Linked DNA regions of Homo sapiens: all the other regions are linked to region 3. The links are contacts of gene promoters, found by promoter capture Hi-C in blood cells and fetal thymus (Javierre and others, 2016). All regions are on one chromosome and are shown on one strand. Each heading gives the region's core, a stretch centred on a gene start or on the middle of the fragment in contact. The rest is flanking DNA. Distances are from core to core; before and after follow the strand shown. Region 1 has its middle 64 kb from the start of MTDH. Region 2 overlaps MTDH (metadherin). Region 3 holds the start of RPL30 (ribosomal protein L30).

Evidence for each region. Contacts are between HindIII fragments. The CHiCAGO score rates a contact against its expected background, and 5 or more counts as called.
Region 1: a contact is called between a fragment that was not itself captured here and the fragment with the promoter of RPL30 in region 3, in 3 of 17 cell types (fetal thymus, naive CD8 T cells and naive B cells). The highest score is 7.8, in fetal thymus.
Region 2: a contact is called between a fragment that was not itself captured here and the fragment with the promoter of RPL30 in region 3, in 3 of 17 cell types (fetal thymus, activated CD4 T cells and total CD4 T cells). The highest score is 6.7, in fetal thymus.

What each region holds. Positions count from the first base shown.
Region 1 is chr8:97,578,007-97,581,486 of GRCh38, reverse strand. No RefSeq gene overlaps it. Among named protein-coding and RNA genes, the nearest start is that of MTDH, 64 kb to the left of the region's middle. The HindIII fragment of the contact is 4,555 bases long and covers 1-3,480 here.
Region 2 is chr8:97,676,859-97,680,295 of GRCh38, reverse strand. All of the region lies in intron 2 of MTDH (metadherin), which reads right to left. Among named protein-coding and RNA genes, the nearest start is that of MTDH, 34 kb to the right of the region's middle. RefSeq lists a silencer at 1,598-1,798. The HindIII fragment of the contact is 760 bases long and covers 1,429-2,188 here.
Region 3 is chr8:98,043,718-98,046,862 of GRCh38, reverse strand. It overlaps RPL30 (ribosomal protein L30), which reads left to right and starts at 1,318. Exons shown (of 5, transcript NM_000989.4): 1 at 1,318-1,355; 2 at 1,464-1,516; 3 at 1,775-1,920. The coding sequence starts at 1,496. RefSeq lists enhancers at 937-986, 1,007-1,066, 234-1,170, 1,237-1,386. The HindIII fragment of the contact is 12,210 bases long and covers 809-3,145 here.

The sequences.
Region 1 (3,480 bases), core at 245-2,744, 470 kb after region 3:
ATAAATATCCACACTGAATATTAAATACCATCTTATGTAGATGATCATATAATTTTCTCCTTTATTTTATTCATATGGTAAAATCACATTGATTGATTTTTAAGTATAAATTAGCCTTTTGCTCCACTTTTGTTTTTTTAAAAATATATTTTTAAATTAAATTTTATTTTATTTTAGTTTTTGAGACAGGGTATCGCTTTGTTGCCCAGGCTGGAGTGCAGTGGTGCGATCTCGGCTCACTGCAGCCTCTGCCTCCCAGGCTCAAACCATCCTCCCACCTTAGTGTCCTGAGTAGCTGGGACTACAGGCACGTACCACCATGCCTGGCTGATTTTTGTATTATTTGTAGAGACAGAGTATCGCTATTTTGCCCAGGCTAGTCTTGAAGTCCTGGGCTCAAGTGATCCACCCACCTCAGCCTCCCAAATTATTGGGATTACAGGCGTCAGCCACCTTGCCTGGCCAGTCTTGTGTTCTTGGAATAAGCCCAGTCTCGATGGGATATATAGCATATAGCCATATTTGATTGGCTCATATTTTGTTTCAGATTTTTGCATCTATGTTCATAAGAGAGAATGGCCTACAATTTTTCTTTTTTGCAGTATCATTATCTAGTTTTGCTATCATGGTCAAGAAGACCCAATAAAATGCAATTGGATCATAAATGCCGCAGATCCCCTTGCCCTTTGGGTGGGATAACTCTGAGGAAAAAGGTCTCCTTGATTTCCCCAGTGGACTCAAGCTCCAGTTACTCACAGTGGCAGTTTGTTTAAGAACCAGCTTTTTTTGGCTGTCTTATCTTTCTTGTTTCTCTTCCTCACTTCCCTAATAATGCTTCCTGACATCACCTCCTTATGTTCAAATCCTTCCCTGGGGATCTGCTTCAGGGGGAACTCAAAGTCAGGATCTTGAGCTCTTAATTCCTGGCTATTTTTGTAGTTTTCTGATGCTTTTAAACAAATGACTTTTGTATTTTATCCAACTTTTCTAGTTGTTCCTGGTAGAAGAGTTGGTTGGGTGTAATCTAGTCTATCATGGCTGAAAGCAGAAATTTAAACGTATATCTAGCATAAAAAAAAGAAACACCATAGTATAATTTGGTAACTTTCCTAATAGTTGGATTCAGTCTTTAATATTTTATCAGTTCTGATGTAAAGTAACCCTGATAAAATAGCTAGTCCTACTCTTTATTTATTTATTTATTTTTTGATACAGGGTCTCGCTCTGTCACCCAGGCTGGAGTGCAATGGTACAATCTCGGCTCACTGCAACCTCTGCCTCCAGGGTTCAAGCCATCCTCCCATCTCAGCCTCCTGAGTAGCTGGGACTACAGGTGCATACCACCGTGCCTGGCTAATTTTTGTATTTTTTGTAGAGACGGAGTATTGCTATGTTGCCCAGACCGGTGTTGAACTCTTGAGCTCAGGTGGTCTGTCTGTGTTGACTTCCCAAAGCTCTGGGATTACAGGCATGAGCCACCACACGCAGCCTACCAGTCCTAATCTTTATAATTCACTTCAAAGTCTTATCTTGGAGTCAGGACTCTCCTGAAGAAGGAACACACTTTGGGACTTCAGGCCAGTTTTGGGCACCTCCACTTCTCCCAGCTGCCTGGATGCCTCATTTGCATGTGGCATTAGCCAAGCTAATAAAAGGTAAACCTAAGTGTATCCTCCTAGCCTCCTTACTGTCTTGGGAGGCTGCCACCTTCCCTGATTCCCCTGTATTCTCTTCAAAGCAGAAAGAGAGACTGCAGATGATCAACCCCACATTCACTCTGATGACAACAAAACCTCCTTTCTCCTGAACAAAAAGAATCCAATTTCTACATAACCTAAAAAGGGAAACATTTCTGTTCTCAGCCACTATTGCATCTTGAGTTTCTTATATATTGCTTCCATGTTCCTAAATTTAAATGATAGCATTTCGTTTGTTTGAGTTGTCCCTAAATAATACACAACTTTTATAAACAGCTTTACTTAAAAGGGACATACCACTTTTTACAGAATATTTTTCAAAAACAGCTTTGAAATCATAGTTAGCATTTAAAGAAGAATGTTGTCCTATTCTTTTTTCTTATCTGTTTTCCCTTCTGTTTCCTTCCAGAACAATCCATTTCAAAAGCCATTATTAGATGGGGTTGGGCAGGTCAGTGACAAAAGGTAGGGTATCAGTGTCTGAACAAGTTCAGGTGCGGAGGCATGCAGGGAGGAAGACCAGGGCGGGGTGTTGGAGCCATGCAGAGTGAGAAAGGCATGCACACGAGGGGCTGATGGGGGCCTGGCACGGGTGTCAGATACCAAGCAAGGTGGGATGCACATTCCTATGGTAGCCCAGCATGTGGCATCAGAGGCCAGGTGGGGTGAGGAGGGCTTTAGATGAGGGGAATCAGCAGCCTGGTGCTGGGTGTGGGAGTCCGAATAGGGTGAGAGGGGCCTGCCTAGGGGAGGGCAACCTGGCAGGGGGGTGTCAGGGCCTACAAGGTGGGATATTACATATAGTAGTGCTCCAATATGTCAAGATATGGAGGAGAGTAGGAGCAAAGTTTCTCACTGTCACAGAAGGAAGTGAAAATATGGAAAGGGAGAAAACTGATGAGCTCTCTACTGTTAGAGTTTGGAATTGGAGATATTACCGTGAGTTCATAGTTTTCAGTATACACAGATGGGTAGATATGGGAATCAATATAGATATGTGTGTGTGTGTGTGTGTACGTGTGTGTGTGTATGCGTGTGCATATGTATGCTCCCTAGCTTTGCTCCTTTTGAGGGCCTGAGTGTAGTACACATCAAGAGCAATGAGCAAATCTAGCACTGAGGTCTTGATTTTTAAGTACCATTCTCCACTAAAAGGATCCAGGACCCCTTGGAGAAGTGGCTGATACAGGGTTTGAGTAGGGAAGCACAGGATGAGCCTGAAATATCTTGTTGTGCCAAAGGATGCAGAAGCCAGCTTGATAGGAATGGATTAAAATCCACTGAATAAAATAGAACCATGATTCAATATGACGTAAATAAGTAAATGACTAACTTGAAAGATTGGTGAGGAACAGGATGTCTATATGTTCTCAAAGTACCTCCCTACAAAATATGTATTAATTACAGAGGGGAGAAGTGTAAATTTACACTGGAGAAGTCTGGTAGATACCACCTTAATCAAGTGATAGAAGTTAACATCACCAATAATAGATTCTGATGGAATGCATCGAGAAGAACTCAGCATCACTTCCATGATATTCCTGATAAAGATGACACAGAACCTGGATTTAATCACAGGGAAACATCAGACACACATGTTCTCTGTCTCTTTCTCTCTCTCTCTTTCACTCAGACACACATTGGGAAATGTGTTGTCATTGACTTCTTGTGATGTGCTACAACTTTCCAATTCTAGAATCCAATCTTAGAGGAGGTTTGAAAAGATGAGGCTCCAAATATCTGTTATAATTATCTATGAAGATTACTTAAAGAACGTGATTTA
Region 2 (3,437 bases), core at 559-3,058, 370 kb after region 3:
GTTTGAGACCAGCCTGGGCAACACGGCAAAACTGTGTCTCTACAAAAAATAAAAAATTAGCTGGGCATGGTGGTGCACACCTGTAGTCCTAGCTACTCGGCAGACTGAGGTGGGAGGATCACTTGAGCCCAGGAGGTCGAGGTTGCAGTGAGCCAAGATTGCACCACTGCACTCCAGCTTGGGCGACAGAGCAAGACCTTGTCTCAAACGAACAAACAAAAAAACTAGATGACGAAAAGGCTTTGATAAATAATCATTAGATCCACCATTACAACTTTCTAAAACTGCCAAAGATATATACTGAATAAGACAGATTGATAATTCCTTAGGAAATTATGACGAATAAGTTCCAAAAATTCTAGTATCTTATTAGGAGTTACTCAAAATAAGTAAATAAGCAGTGCCAATACTCAATTGCTAATCAATATATGGAACATATGGTAACTCACTTAAATACCTGAGTAAATATGCCAGATAAAGGGGTCTGCTATCACTCTTGTAACAGCGGGTTAAATAAGCTTGTTGTTCTCATACTTCCATGGGAAAAAATTGAGCATATACCCCAAGATATTTGTTTATAAATTTTATACACATTCTACTACACTGATAGTGTATACATTTGTAAAATATAACTATTTTTAGTGATAGCAATATCAATGCACATGCTTCATTCTTTCGAATATCTTCTAAATGCATTCATTTTAATATCTGGTATTAAATATTGTTATACTTGAAAAAGTAAGAAGATCAAAATGGAAGACACATGATTGGCCATGCTTACTGAAATACGACACTAATTTTTCAACCTAATTCTCCAACTATGCAAAAGTTTTTGTGAAAATTCAGCCAGTAAATTTTAATCTTTAACATCAATACATTGTTTCTGTATTGAACTGTAGATCAGAAAGTTCTACAGTTTTTGGTACTTTCTACTTTATTATTATTATTACTATTATCATCATCATCATTTTGTTCTTGTTATTACCATGGGTGAGATAATTTTTTTTTGTATTTTTAACAAGTGAATTCACTAAAAAGACAAAATTTTACATCTGGTTTATAGCTATTACTTACATAGTTCCATTTAAATTCTCAAAGTAACCCTAGGTAAATGCTATTCTATCCATTTTGTAGATAAGAAAAGGGAGGCACAAGTGATTACTAACCAACCCCCAAATCACATCATTAGTCAAGTGTTAGAACTGGAATTGGATCCCATGTACTCGTGCTCTGGAATCTGGGCTGTTAGGCTATTTTTCTGTTAGAAAATTGCTCCCAAGCTGGGCAGATATGAGGATTTTCACATCTAACGTACAAACGCTCTTTAATAACAAATCATGCAATGATGTAAGTTTGTCAGAATACACTCTTCATTGCATGAGTTTCTTTCAAAAATTGGCTATTTTCTGACATCTTGTTAAGTAAGCTTTCCTTAAGCGTGAAGGGGCAGATTCAGTATAAATTCTTTGTAAAAGTATCTGGTAAGCAGACAACCATTTATCTTTATAAAAAAGATAAACAGACTTGGAACACTTCATTTTTCATAAAAGAAAAATAGGCCAGTCAAGGTGGCTCATGCCTGTAATCCCGAAATATTGGGAGGCTGAGGTGGGAGGATTGTTTGAGGCCAGGAGTTCGAGACCAGCCTGGGTGACTAAGCAATTCTGTCTCTCTCTCAAAAAAAAAAAAAAAAAAAAAAAAGAAGGAAGGAAGGAAGCAAAGGAAACAGAGAGAGAAAGAGGGAGAAAGGAGAAAAAATGTATGACTCGCTTTTAAAAGTTGTTCAGCTTTATCAAAGTATTTTGCTATAATAGAGTCAATGAATCCTCTTGTAAAATCTTTGCATCATAAAAGATGATTATCACCTTCACCCTTACTGTAATTTGAAGGTCTTCCAATTTGCCATCTGGCATTAATCTCTTTTGTCATCATAGTTTTCTAGAAATAATGTAGTAAATAAATTTCACACATGGTGGTATCTCTCCCTAACTCTCCATTTATTTTTTTAATTCCAGTCAAAGCCGTCCATCAGTGGTTTTTGTTTAGTTTTTCCACAAACATTCAAAAAAGTTAAATAAGTGATTTACAGTTGAGAATATATCTTTGTGGATATCTCTTTAATTGCTCACAAAAGTGGTTCTTCATGTGTTTCATTACTGAAATAGAATCTAGCAAGTACTCCCAAGCTTTAATGTTAGAAACATCTGTACATTATCCCTACCAGGCTGGGAAATTTGCTCTGGTACTAATTTATTTAATATCATTAGCAACATTTTTATGCTGCATCAAACAGTATATGCTAATGAATGAATGCATTTTGATTGGCTGTAATATTGTTTTTTGCTAATTACCATGGCAGAGGAACAAGTGTTTCCCCATAGTATTTCTTTCTCTATTTAAATAAGAAACCCTCAAGAAATGCATCCAGTCATTTATAATTAAATTCAGTAAAATTTTGTCATATAGAATAATGCATAAATAAATACCTCCAAAAAAACTAGAAATGCCAGTTTTTACATTCTGAATGCTTAGATATCTTGCTAAATTAGAATAGTTTCAGAATACCATTAGCTAAAATTTCAAGGCACAGTATAATTAGGCAAAGTTTTTATTTTAAATACCAAAAGTATAAACATATTGTTATTTCAAAACCCCTTCTTGATGATTTCACTATCTGGATCAATTTATATAACATCTGATTAAATCATCATAACTTCATGGTGATGTAGCTGATAGAGTTCTTACTAGAAATAATAGTGTCCACTTCCTTTTTCTTTTCTTTCTTTCTTTCTTTTTTTTTTTTTTGAGATGGAGTCTCGCTCTGTCGCCCAGGCTAGAGTGCAGTGGCATGATCTCAGCTCACTGCAACCTCCGCCTCCCAGGTTCAAGGAATTCTCCTGCCTCAGCCTCCCGAGTAACTGGGACTACAGGCACCTGCCACCATGCCCGGCTAATTTTTTATTTTTAGTAGAGACGGGGTTTCACCATCTTGGCCAGGCTGGTCTCGAACTTTTGACCTTGTGATCCACCTGCCTCGGCCTCCCAACGTGCTGGGATTACAGGCATGAGCCACTGCGCCCGGCCTTTTTTTTTTTTTTTTTTTTTTTTTTTTTTTGAGACAGGCTTTTACTGTTGCCCAGGCTGGAGTGCAGTGGTGTGATCAAGGCTCACTGCAGCCTTGACCTCCTGGGCTCAAGTGATCCTCCTACCTCAGCTTCCCACGTAGCTGGGACTATAGGCATGCGTCATCATGCCTGGCTAATTTTTGTATTTTTTTTTTTTTTTTTTTTTGAGATAGAGTCTCACTCTGTCGCCCAGGCTGGAGTGCAATGGCACAATCTCAGCTCACTGCAACATCCACCTCCTGGGTTCAAGCAATACTCCTGTCTCAGCCTCCTGAGTAGCTGGGACTACGGGTATGTGCCACCACGCCCAGC
Region 3 (3,145 bases), core at 69-2,568:
CTGACTTCAGGTGATCCGCTCACCTCGGACTTCCAAAATGTTTGGATTACAGGCGTGAGTCACCGCATTCGGCCTGAATCAACTTTAATTGTGAAGAGACCTAAGTTACCTGGGCTCTGGTCCTAGCTCTGACAATAGGCCTAGATATGTAAAATGGACAATAAAAAGGTTACTATCTCATGGGACTTTTGTGAGTATTAAATAAATATATGTAAATGATTCCTGGTACAGCACGCGTTTTTTGGTGAGGCTTAATTAAGGAGGGGAAGAGGTTTCCCTCATATAGCTTATCCACTGGTCTGATTGATTAGGTGGGGATTTTCAGCGCCTAATATCTTCAGTGGTCTGTCTCTGGACATTTATACCAAGATCCAACGTTAACAGCAAAAATACTTTTAAAAAATTAGACCTGTTTATCGCGCTCTCAGTGCAAACTCGGCTCACAAGTTCACGCTAACACAGTCACAAAAGGCGAGTTTTGGGAAACTCGAGCAGGGCGCCACCGTTCTCCAGGGGACAGGTAACTTGGGTGACCGCAGGGGTGAGGACACAGCTGCTTCTACCAAGCGGAGAGTAAATGCGGGTGCTGCGGCGCATCGGAGTCACCCACAAGGCTCTCCAAGAGCCGCGCCTCAGGACAAAGATGAATTCAGCGGCATTGAGACCGTGGTCGCAGCCGCCGCAGCCTCTTCTCATCTACCCTCCCACCTCACCTTCAGTCGGCTTTTCGAACTCCCTCCGGGTTCTAAGCGCCTCGATTAGTTAGACCGCAGCTCGCAGCAGAACAGCAACACAACGCCGCGAAGCTTAAAGGCCCGCAGAGGGGGAAAAGAACACCCCCGCCGTCATTCTTTTTTTTCCTTCTTTGAGACAGAGTCTCACTCTGTCGCCCAGGCTGAGTGCAGTGGCGCGATCATGGCTCACTGCAGCCTCGACCTACCGAGCTCAAGCGACCTCTCCGCCTCAGCCTCCGGCGTAGCTGGGAGTAGCTAGGACTACTGGAGCGCGCCACCACGCCCGGCTAATTTCTTTTTTATTTCTTTTTTATTTTTTTGTAGAGACAGGGGTGGTCTATGTTGTCCAGGCTGGCCTTGAGCTGGACGCAACAGATCTTCCCGCCTCAACCTCCGAAAGTGCTGGGATTAAAGGTATGAGCAGCCGCGTACGGCCCCCGCAGCCATTCTAGCTAGCGGTACCAATAGCAACCGGCAGCTGCCCTCCGCTTTTGCTCCGCCCCTTCTGCTTGCGATCTGTTTCCGCTTCCGGTCCCGCAGTTCCGGCTCTGCCGTGAAGAGCTTTGCATTGTGGGAAGTCTTTCCTTTCTCGTTCCCCGGCCATCTTAGCGGCTGCTGTTGGTGAGTGGGCTCCTACCGACCGAGGTTTAGGCAGCGCGGGGAGCTTTGCGGGTTGCCATTTGTAACTCCGGATCCTAAAATTCCTGTCCTGTTCTCTGTCTCTTCTAGGTTGGGGGCCGTCCCGCTCCTAAGGCAGGAAGATGGTGGCCGCAAAGAAGACGGTGAGTGAGGCGGGCCAGGCCCGGAAGACGATTCACGTGGAGAGATGTCTTGGCCAGGGCGGGCAGATGTGAGCCCACGGGGGTGACAGCATGCCTGCTGGCATTTGGAGGGCCCCAGAAGGAATCCCAGTGGCCCTCTCAATGACTTGGGGTCCTCGACTTCGGAAGTTTAAGGGGCTCGGCTTCAAAAAGCTGGGTCCGGTTTTGAGGCGGTTGCAGGCGAGGCCCTTAGGTCCGTATTTAATGTTTGCTTTGTAGAAAAAGTCGCTGGAGTCGATCAACTCTAGGCTCCAACTCGTTATGAAAAGTGGGAAGTACGTCCTGGGGTACAAGCAGACTCTGAAGATGATCAGACAAGGCAAAGCGAAATTGGTCATTCTCGCTAACAACTGCCCAGCTTTGAGGTAATCGAAGAGACTGAACGGGCTTCGCCTACCGCGAATTCATCGTGAACGAATATACAGGAGTGTAAACTTGTAATCTGAGTACCATGAACTCGAACACTTGCAGGATAATTACGGTAGCGATTGTGGTGTTTGGCCCTTCATTCCCGTCTCCCCGACCCACCCCCAAATCGTGTGCTCCCCTTCTGTGAGCTTATTTTTGGAGGAGAAATGTGTGTGTGTGGCAGGAGTGAAAACAGAACATCGAGGTTTAATGGAAACACAGACACATTACTGTTTTTTCCATGTATTTTGTGTCCTGCTTTTTTGGTTCTTTTAGCTTTGAGGTGCTTTAATGATGCTTCATTGTGTGAACTTGTTTTAGTGTCAAAAAACTAGGTAAGAAAAGTTGAGGCTGGGCTATGGAGTTGCAGGCTATCATAGAATCACCTAGTTTAGCCCGCTAAATCAGTTCTGAGTCAAGATTTATGCTTGACTCACTGTTTTGAAATTGAACTTAGGGGGTGTTGTAAATAAGCCAAACAAACTTGGACCTTGCAGAGTATAAGCTATGTGAGCAAATTTTCTGTGGTGATGCATAAGCTGCTTACAGCATTTTATATAGGGTGTCTGTAGTTACCGTCAAAGCCTGGAGGGCCCTTTCTGTCTTGTCCCATGGGTTCGGCTTTTCCCTAACCATTCTTTGAAACTTTCTTTAAAGCCTGTCTTCTATAGTAGTGCTTCTGAAACATGACTGTGCAAAGGAGTCACATGGGTGATGTTAAAATGCAAGTTCTGATTTCATTGGATCTGGGATGGGGCCCGAGGTGCCATTTATTATTTTATTTTTTTTAAGACAGAGTTTTGCTCTTGTCACCCCGGCTGGAGTGCAATGGCACAATCTAAGCTCACTGCAACCTCTGCCTCCCAGGTTCAAGCAATTCTGCCTCACCCTCCCGAGTAGATGGGATTACAGGCACCTGCCACCATGCCTGGCTAATTTTTGTATTTTTAGTAGAGATGGGGTTTCGCCATGCTGGCCAGGCTGGTCTCGGACTCCTGACCTTAGGTGATCCACCCACCTCGGCCTCCCAAACTGCTGAGATTACAGGTGTGAGCTACCGTGCCCGGCTTGAGGTGTTTTTTTAACTAATACATTGTAGCACTATTGCTGGTATGTGGATTCACATAATTGAGTGGCAAGATAGTATAGGACTCCTTTCCGATTCCTAAAACCATTAGTATC